Linked DNA regions of Homo sapiens: regions 2 and 3 are each linked to region 1. Evidence: promoter capture Hi-C in 16 types of primary human blood cells and fetal thymus (Javierre and others, 2016). All regions are on one chromosome and are shown on one strand. The core of a region is centred on a gene start or on the middle of the fragment in contact, and the rest is flanking DNA. Distances in the headings are between cores, read along the strand shown.

The links. Contacts are between HindIII fragments. The CHiCAGO score rates a contact against its expected background, and 5 or more counts as called.
Region 2: the fragment with the promoter of RINT1 here is called in contact with the fragment with the promoter of ATXN7L1 in region 1 in 3 of 17 cell types (monocytes, naive CD4 T cells and total B cells); the score reaches 9.0 in monocytes.
Region 3: a fragment that was not itself captured here is called in contact with the fragment with the promoter of ATXN7L1 in region 1 in 1 of 17 cell types (naive CD4 T cells); the score reaches 5.4 in naive CD4 T cells.

Annotation. Positions count from the first base shown.
Region 1 is chr7:105,875,133-105,878,186 of GRCh38, reverse strand. It overlaps ATXN7L1 (ataxin 7 like 1), which reads left to right and starts at 1,588. Exons shown (of 12, transcript NM_020725.2): 1 at 1,588-1,809; 2 at 2,307-2,375. The coding sequence starts at 1,629. RefSeq lists a silencer at 1,336-1,545. The HindIII fragment of the contact is 13,815 bases long and covers 1-3,054 here.
Region 2 is chr7:105,530,552-105,533,605 of GRCh38, reverse strand. RINT1 (RAD50 interactor 1) reads right to left here and starts at 1,405. Exons shown (of 15, transcript NM_021930.6): 1 at 1,249-1,405; 2 at 737-782. The coding sequence starts at 1,290. It also overlaps the pseudogene LOC100131785. RefSeq lists enhancers at 633-1,209, 1,055-1,234, 1,325-1,624, 1,210-1,787, 2,075-2,124. The HindIII fragment of the contact is 4,822 bases long and covers 1,152-3,054 here.
Region 3 is chr7:106,150,350-106,153,403 of GRCh38, reverse strand. No RefSeq gene overlaps it. Among named protein-coding and RNA genes, the nearest start is that of SYPL1, 40 kb to the right of the region's middle. The HindIII fragment of the contact is 4,604 bases long and covers 1-3,054 here.

The sequences.
Region 1 (3,054 bases), core at 339-2,838:
GGAAGGAAGGAAGGAAGGAAATGTCAAGCCCAGGGTCTAGCATATAACAAGAGGTCAACAAGTAATACATATTTGTTAACACCACCAATTCTTACAATGGGAATTCTTCACCCAGCGACACCTTAGCTATGTAGGAGCCCTTCGAAAGAGAGCAAAGGCAAATGCAGTTTATCTGAGTCTGACACAAACAAGCCGACTCACACAAACATCACAACTAAAGGCAAATCCGCAGCTCCTCCTTCATCGCCCATCCTAACACTGGCTTAGCGATACAGGGTGCCAAGCTCAGGGAAATTATTAGATGGTTCAGCCAGGGCAGAACTCAGTCAGTACAAAGCAACTTCCAATCAGTGCGCTTCAGCTGTGACAACTTGGGAAACAGCAGTGGTGAGAGCTAAAAGGGTGCTGGCGAAAGAGAAAAAAAAATATGTCGCTTGTGGGGTGAGGGCGGTGTCCATATAGTTTAGATAATTCTAGTAAACAAAAGGATTTGTTAAAAAGAAGTAACAGAAGACTTTTTAAAGCCTTCTTTAAAGGGTGAAAATCTCAACTAAAGCACCCAACGTCCAAAATCCAGAGGAAATCTAGCGCTCCCTTTCTAGCTGGCTAGAGCAGTTAAGCCTGAAGTGAATTCTCCCAGGAATCAGATTCCTGGCCAAAGGTTGCCTGCGCAAACCCGGGCCACCCTCGTCTCACGGCAGGGAGCGCTGGAAACGGCTCAGGGGCTAGGCCCGTTAGCGTCGTCTTCCAAGAGCCGTAAATTCGCCCTCCCGCTCTGCTGACCCTGGAGCAAAGTCCATGCAGTGGTTCTCTGAGAGCCGGAGATACGCACCGCGCGGGGAACCCGGGGGTCCGGGGGCCCTAACTTTTGAGTTTTGCACGCCCCGCAGCCTGAGATGGGAAGGTAGCTCGTAGCGCTCCAAACTCACCTGCGTTTCAGAACGACATCTACCCACTGGTTTCAGCTCCTAGAGCAACAACTGCAGAATCTCCATGGTCCAAAGTCCTCCAGGAAAGAGAAGAAAGGGGTGACGGGGGTGAGGGCTGGGAGGCGAGGTCACCAGGGTCCCTTCCCTGGCTCGGGTGGGGGTGGGGGGCGCAACCCCTCACGGCTCCTCCCCACCAAGCCGTCGGGACCCCAGCGGGGGCGCCTCGCGTTGGGCGACAGGGACGCGGGGAGAGAGCGACAAGCTGGAAGCAAGGGCTGCCTGCAAAACTTTCGGTCCTCCAGCGGCAACTCTGCGGGAAAGACCACCCTTCCTTCGGCCCCGCGTCGGGCCTATCCCCGTGTGCCCCGACCCCTGCGCCCCAGGCTTGGGCGGCGCCGCTGCATCCCGGCTGCCGGGCGCGCTGCAGCCTTCGCTCTCCCGCACGCGGCGCTCGCCCGTCCGCGCTGCCCCTCCCCGGCAGGCGGGCGGCCCCGGCGGGCGGGCGGGCGCGGACTGCAGGTGCCTCTCTGCTGCCCCTGGCGGCCGCGGGCGCGCGAGCCCCACCGAGCCGGCTCCGGGAGCCCGAGCGCCCGCCCCTCCTCCGCTCCCTCTCCCCTCCTCCTCCGCCGCCCTCCTCCCATCCCGCCCTTCCTCCCTCCCTCCCCCTTTCAGAACACTCAATGTCGGAACGTTCCGAAGATGACGTCGGAGCGTTCTCGAATCCCGTGTCTCTCGGCTGCTGCTGCCGAAGGAACAGGGAAAAAGCAACAAGAAGGAAGAGCAATGGCGACACTGGATCGCAAAGTGCCCAGTCCGGAGGCGTTTCTGGGCAAACCCTGGTCCTCCTGGATCGACGCCGCCAAATTACACTGCTCCGACAGTAAGAACCCCACCACCTCCTCCTCCTTTTATTATCCTGTAACCTTTCCATTCACCTAGAGCCACTGGGAAAAAGTGTGTGTGTGAGAGAGAGAGTGGCCCCCGGTGTCCTCCATGCTTCTCCCTCTCTCTCTAAATAAATACACACAGAGACAGATCATCAATGCACAGGGAGAGGCCCGGCTGCCAGGGCTGTCTGTCTGTCTGTGCCCGGCTCCCCGTGGCAGCCCGCGGGGTGGGCTCGCAGCCCCACGGTGTTGTCCGTTTAAAAGGCTACTTTGTTGCTGCTTGCATAGTTTTTTGGGTACCTATCTGGGCCAGGTAGATGGAAACCCAGACTTGGGAGAAAATGTTGCATTGTCAATTTTTGAAAGAATTTCATATACAGTATTTATATCGATCTGTTTGCAAATAAACACTCTCCCTCCCCCCTTGACTTTGGCTTTTTTCCCCCCTTTTTTCCTTATTTTCTGTTTTCCTTTTCTTTTTCATCTGCAGATGTAGATTTAGAAGAGGCTGGAAAAGAGGGTGGAAAAAGCAGGGAGGTTATGAGGCTTAATAAAGAAGGTAAGTGGAGCTACTGGCATTTTAGTGTTAGCATGTGTGGCAGAATCTTCACAGGATTTCGAATATAATGTGAATTGTTCTGCTGGGTACAGAGTGACTAAGGCTTGTCAAAAATTGAGCACGCCCAGGTGACTACTGCTTCATGTTAACTTCTTTCAAAGTATAAATACAACTGGGGGGGGGGTAAAGGGGGGTGAGACTGTTGAAGGCAGAAGTTTACTGCACTTCAGTTGGACTCCACGTTTGAACCTTCTGATGCATATCTGCCATTCTCCTTGGGAGCATCATTGCCAAATGGTGGGGCGTTAAAATTTCTGAAATGAAGAGTGGAGTTCCCTTCACAAGCATCCCAGCCTTTCTCGTGGGTGAATGCACAACAGCTTAATGAACCCCACATGGTCAGTCATTCCAGCAGCTACTTCTCCACTCACCACTGAAAACCATTGTACATGGCAAACCTTTGCAGCAAGTTACATTTGGCCCACTTTGCATTTGGTCACAGATTGTTATGTGGCAAGCAGGGTTAGGAGCATCTGTATGTGCAGCCCCTCAGCAGTCATCATCTCTCTTTTCCCAGCATGGAAATACGGTACCTGAAATGGGACACACTGAGTAGATAGGTCATCCCAGACCAAGATATGCAAGAGAAGCCACAACCTGCTGCAATTGGGCATCAAAC
Region 2 (3,054 bases), core at 156-2,655, 340 kb after region 1:
CCGTTTTTCTTACTGCTACACATTCCCAACTGTTTGCCACAGTCAAAAGAACCAAAAATCCCAATAGCAGAGCTATCACATGCTTTTCCCCTTCCTCTCCCAAAAAATGTCACTTCAAAGGTCCCTAAAGAGCCCTTGATTTGCAATAACCTGCCATCAAAGTAAAATGGCAAAAGTCCACAACCCTGACATATACTCCCGTACTAGGGAGGAAATGGTGGTACTGACCTTTTCCCCCTTTCCTGTCCAGTCCAAGATCCAGAACCCAAGTTATCCGTTGTGCTCTTGCCAGAGCAATTTTAAATTGCCAATTTACTGAAGGTGAACTAAACAACTGTCATTTGCCTCCTTTGAACCCAATTAGGGTGGTGGTCGTCTGTCCTAGATCATGGGCCCCTCCAAATTCCTGATGCTTAGTAAGTTGATGTTTCATTAAAATGACAGGCAGGCCCCAATTATTCTGAGTACTGTATGATAGGCAGACTTCCAGCGAAAACACTCTAGTCCCTGTACTAGGTATGGATCGGGAAGTGCTCTTCTCCAAAGCATCCCATATTTTACAATTTTAGAAAGACAAAAATATGTGTATCATGGTCATCAGTATTACCATATAAGCATATTGTGCAGAAAACGGTACTGCATCTAAAAGATAGGCAAAGAACCTTTCTATATTGCAGACCCTGGAAGGCTGAGTTTGGGCGGGAAGAAAAAGCTAAGGTGTTTGGAGCTGGCTTACTTTTCTCCTCGAGGTTCTTCCTTTCGTCACCACTTTCAGAGCAGCACTAGAAGAAGAACAGATGTGACAAGCACATTAAGATTAAAGTCGTGGATGGAAAGCATACGGGGCTCCCAAAGGGCACCCACTGGAGGCAAGAGAGGTTCCAGACGCTCTCCCACTTTCTGAGCGACCAGGGCCGTCCGAATCAGGTACCTCAAAGTGCCACTGTCCTGGTGCCACCGCCACCTTCCCAGGAGGTGTGTGTCACCTCCGCAGGACCTGGAGTTACCTTGCCTGCTCACTAGAGCCACCTCCCTAGAGAAATCTGTCATCTCACCAGGGCCGCCAAAGCCACTTCACGGGGACTACCGCCTCCTCTAGGAGGTCTTACAAGGGCCTCTAATCTAAGCCGCAGGAAGCACCTTCACAAGCTTACAGGGCCACCGCACCGGGACTATCTCCCCCGGGAGGTCTGTGCCACCTCAATGGGCCACCAATGTCCCCTCCCAGGGACGCCAGGGCCGTCTCACCGGGGCTGCAGGAGAGGCGCCGATCTCGCCGGCTGGTAGCATCTCGCCTCCGCGCGAGTCCTCGGCTCCATTCGCAGCCAGCGTGGCCTGTGGAGTCTGGCTAAGGCCAGCGACACACTCACTACCCAGCCTCGGAGGCCGTAGGACTGAGTGCCACAGCGACTTCCTCTCGATGTCTCACTGGTTTCTTCCTCTCAGCCCAGAGAGGCCCTGCCCGTGCAGCCGCCGGCCGTGCTCTGTTCCTCCCCCTCCTGACCGGAGGTCGGAACGGCCACTCAGGAAGCGGGCACCCTCCCCTATGGAGCTCCAGAGAAGGGATTCGCTCACTCCACCGCGGTAAAAGTCCCCTCCACTTTATTGAAGCTCTTAATGATGGAACTTTAAGATATCCCTCTCCCAACGCCTTAAATTCAATATGAATAATTTAAATTTATATTTTAGGCAATATCCAGATGTTCTGAGAGTGTGGGGGGCTTGTTGACTAGGAGCTTCGGTGCAGGGTTATTTGGTTCGAATATTTAGTTGGGGGTTTCCAATGAATGTCAGTATCTTTAGATATTTCTTTTAACGTTGGTCAGAGTCCCTAGAGATGAGCTTCTGATTTCCTGCCTAGAGGGTGTAGAGGTGGTTATAAGCGTTCTGGGAGCTGAATGAAGAGAACAGAGCATCTAACATGTGTTTCGCCCAAAACCCTGTCTTTTACCAGGGAGGAGGAAAGGGAGCTACCTAGCAGCAAGGGTTGTGTAGAGGACCTGTGGACTTGACAGCCTCTTAAACAAACTAACACGGAAGGAGTACCATAGAGACCATAACAAACAAGGGGGGGGGAAAGCAACCCTCAGAGGAAAAAGAAACCACACGGTGAGAAGAAAAATCAAATACATGTGCACAGAGATATATAATCGAGCTACAAATTACTATTGCAAGCATAAAACAAGGATGGCTGGGCGCTGTGGCTCACGCCTGTAATCCCAGCACTTTGGGAGGCCGAGGCAGGCAGATTACGAGGTCAGGAGATCGAGACCATCCTGGCTAACATGGTGAAACCCCGTCTCTACTAAAAATACAAAAAATTAGCCAGGCGTGGTGGTGGGCGCCTGTAGTCCCAGCTACTCAGGAGGCTGAGGCAGGAGAATGGCGTGAACCCGGGAGGTGGAGCGTGCAGTGAGCAGAGACCGCACCACTGCACTCTAGCCTGGACGACAGAGCAAGACTCCGTCTCATTTAAAAAAAAAAAAAAAAACAAGGATACTATTTTTTAAATTACCTATTATGGGAACATAATCGTATATATTTATAGTGTACATGTGTGTTTGTTTTTTTTTTGCTCAGGCTGGGGTGCAATGGCGTTATCTCTGCTCGCAGCAACCTCCGCCTCCCAGGTTCAAGCGATTCGCCTGCCTCAGCCTCCCAAGTAGCTGGGATTACAGGCATGCACCACCACGCCCGTCTAATTTTGTATTTTTAGTAGAGACGATGTTTCTCCATGTTAGTCAGGCTGGTCTCGAACTCCCGGCCTCGGGTGAACTGCCCGCCTTGGCGTACCAAAGTGCTGGGATTACAGGTGTGAGCCACTGCGCCCGGCCTTTTTTTCTGGGGCGGGGCGGGGGACGGGTAAAGAAATTTTAATGAGGATTCAAGGTTTGTAGGGAAGACACAGAGGACCGGCGCTCAGCCCCAGCCTCCTCACGTGTACATGGCTCCATGGAGGTTCTCCAGTCGGTTCTGCTGCTGCTGCTGTTTTCGAGCCTTATCTCGTCTGTGTTCCTCATAAGTGTAGTCATCAGTGGGCAGCTCATGGCGGCA
Region 3 (3,054 bases), core at 376-2,875, 280 kb before region 1:
AAAGCCACCTTCCTTCCTCTGAGGGGCAGCTTCTCCTCTGTTCTCTGAGAGAGGAGCCAGTGCTTTGATGCAGCCTTATGGTTTTTCTTTTGTGGACTGCCCCTAATTGCAGCAGTCAGCAAGTTCTTTGCAGGGAAGGGCTGACTCACCTGCATTTTGGAAGAAGCCATCCTTATTTTCAGGCACAGAGAACATCTATTAGCCCAAAATGTCTTCCAAATTTCAAGGAGTACATGTTTCAAAAGGAATTGTCATCACAGTTTTACTCCAAGCAGTTGGCTTCCAAGAAGCCTGTCTCTGGCCATTGGGGATGTTAAAATAACCTAAATTTGGCCTGAGGAAGCCTTTGCACCCAAGTCCTTACTTAACTAACTGCAGGCAGCCTGGCTTACTAATCTAATTGAAAGCCTAAATTTAGGAGTATGCTTTTGTAAAAAATAGCTGAGTCTCCGCCATCACGGCAACTGAGCTTCCTTCAATCCCTGGCTGCCAACGATCAAATAAGGCAAACGCTGAGCCGGAACCAGTTAAGCCCTATATGTACCTCACTTCTGTTTTCCGTGCATCCATAACACTTGATCACATTGTTGACCATGTTCTTAGAACCCGTTCTGAATCAGAGGGCTGCCTGATTCACATGTCATGTGTTTTTGTTTTCTGAGTTTTTGTTTTTTTCTCACTTAAACTCTGCTAAACTTGTCTAAGGTTTTTCTTTTTAACAGGGTCTCTGGAACTCACTGCTCAAAGATCTTCCCTCTTGTTTATTGAAAGGTGACAGGTCCCCTCTAAAAACTGCAAGGTCAAGTATGTCTGTGACTTTAGCGACTGTCAAAAGAATGCAGGCAGGCCCAACTGAGTGGGGACACAAGGAAATATAGGGGATGACAAACAAGAACCGTCAGCTCTTGTGCCAGCTTCCTACGTACCGTCTGTGTTGGAACAATCACCCAGGTACTGACAGGTGCCAGCCTAGCTGCAGAGCAGGCTAACCCCAACCCCACCAAGCCCTGAGGGTGAACGTGGAGCAAGAACCTGGCTCACCAACTACAGCAAAAGAACCGTCTTGTTGAGCAAACTCTTCCCATGGGACTGTATAATACCTTTGGTTTCCCAACTTTTTACAAATTTACCTTGATCCTGAAATCTCTGCAGCACTTAAAGATTATGGACTTTTCTGTGAGAATCAGAGCTTTTGGACTATGTGACAGTACTTGTTGCCTGCTCAAAGTCTATTCTTCCTCCTTCCTTAGTGAGAGAACTTTGGACAGTATGTTTGTTTAAAAAGAAACAACAACAAAAAACTGCATTCCAAGCCTCTTGCACAGATTAATGTCACTAAATATGCCGGCGAGCCTGGGGATGAGGCCTTTTGGGAGGTGCATCTGCCCCTGTCCCTGTCCGATCCTGACTGAAACAGGGACACGGCCACAGCAGGGATGGTCCAGCAGTCATCTTGTGAGCTCAGTGCTGACAGCCACCCACAGGAGTGGCAGGCATACACAGGAGGGGTTGACACCAGTAACCTTTTGGAGCCACCATACCTGCCTCAACTCCTCCCTCCTTCTGTTACTGGAGAAAATAACTGAAACATTTATTCCCTAATTTTCTTAAGTCACTGACATCAACCCCCACCACTATAAGTGGCAGGAGGTTACCCTGCCCCATGCATTGTAAGCATCCAGTTAACAGTCACAGAGAAAACCCAGATGGAAGAAAGACACCCTCTTGCCTTTCCCTGATCGAGATAGGCAGCATCTGTTTTTGTTTCTCTTCCCCATATTGAAACAGAAATAACATTAGAACCTTAGAGTAAGGGGGCCAGAGGGTCTGGAGAGAGCTTCGCATCTTAGAGGCTGGGCAGTGACCAACCTGTGTAGGGAACAGAGTGAGGCCCTACCATCAACGCCAACTCTAGGAGGAACACCCCAGCTGGCCTCCCTGCCCTGTCCTCCACCCCCACAAGTTACATCTGAAGTTGAGGGAGGTGCAGCCAAATGATGCTCCTTCTCTTTTTATTTAAATTGTAAACATAAACTCATTTAACCAGAAAGTTATGCAGATACATAGTACAAATACAAAAAAAAATAGAGGAACATCAAAAGTGCTAATAATTCCACCCAAAGACAATTTCTTTTTAAAGCTGCAGAAATAACCTTCCAGATCTTTTCGGATATACATATATACAAATACATATTTATCATTAAATGGGATAATACTATAGATAGAATAGTGTGATTGTAAGTGTGCAATTCCAACCCGTCAACAATACATTGCTATTTTAATGTAACTAGAGTTGCCTGCCCTTCTGTCTGGCTCCACTGACATACCAGACTTAGGTCTGCCCTCCCATGCCACCACCAGTCCATCTCCATTTCTAAAAGGGCTTGAGAGGTGGTGGCATCCTTCAGAGGATGGCTTTGAGACCAGAAGCTGAAGCTACTTCTCTGCACCAGTACCAACTGGCTTGGCTTGGGACAATGGTGGGCTGAGCATGCCGATGATTCTGCCCGACACGGACCATCCAATGCAGTTCACCCACCCCAGCCCCCAGCTTTCCCAAGATTGCATCGCCCTTCACCCTCTTCCAGTGCACTGAGGAGACATCTCCCTTTTTAGTTTCTTTCCAGTCTACTAAAGGTGTAAACTCATTGCTCCACTCCACTGGGGTCTTTCATTTTGGCTCCCCAGAAAACCGAATGTAAACGGTTTCTCCCCATATTTGGCCTCTGTAACAACTCCACCTCCAGCGATGAAGGGCCAAGGACCAGGAGAGATGGGAAGAGTGGTGAATGCCCTACCACAGCAGCAAGGTGGTCAAGCACAGAACAGGGCCCGGCCCGTGCCTCTGACTCCTGCCCTCTGTAACTTCTATGACCTCCAAAACGTAAGGTTCAAAGAACTAAAGGAGTCGAGTATATTAGATAACTATTAGCCAGGGGCAGAAAAAAGAGCTTTTATCTGAGGAATGCAAGTCCTTTTAATTATCAGGCCCAGAGAGACATTAAAATGAGACTACAATCATGCCCTACTCCCCACTTTGAGCTACGTATTCAT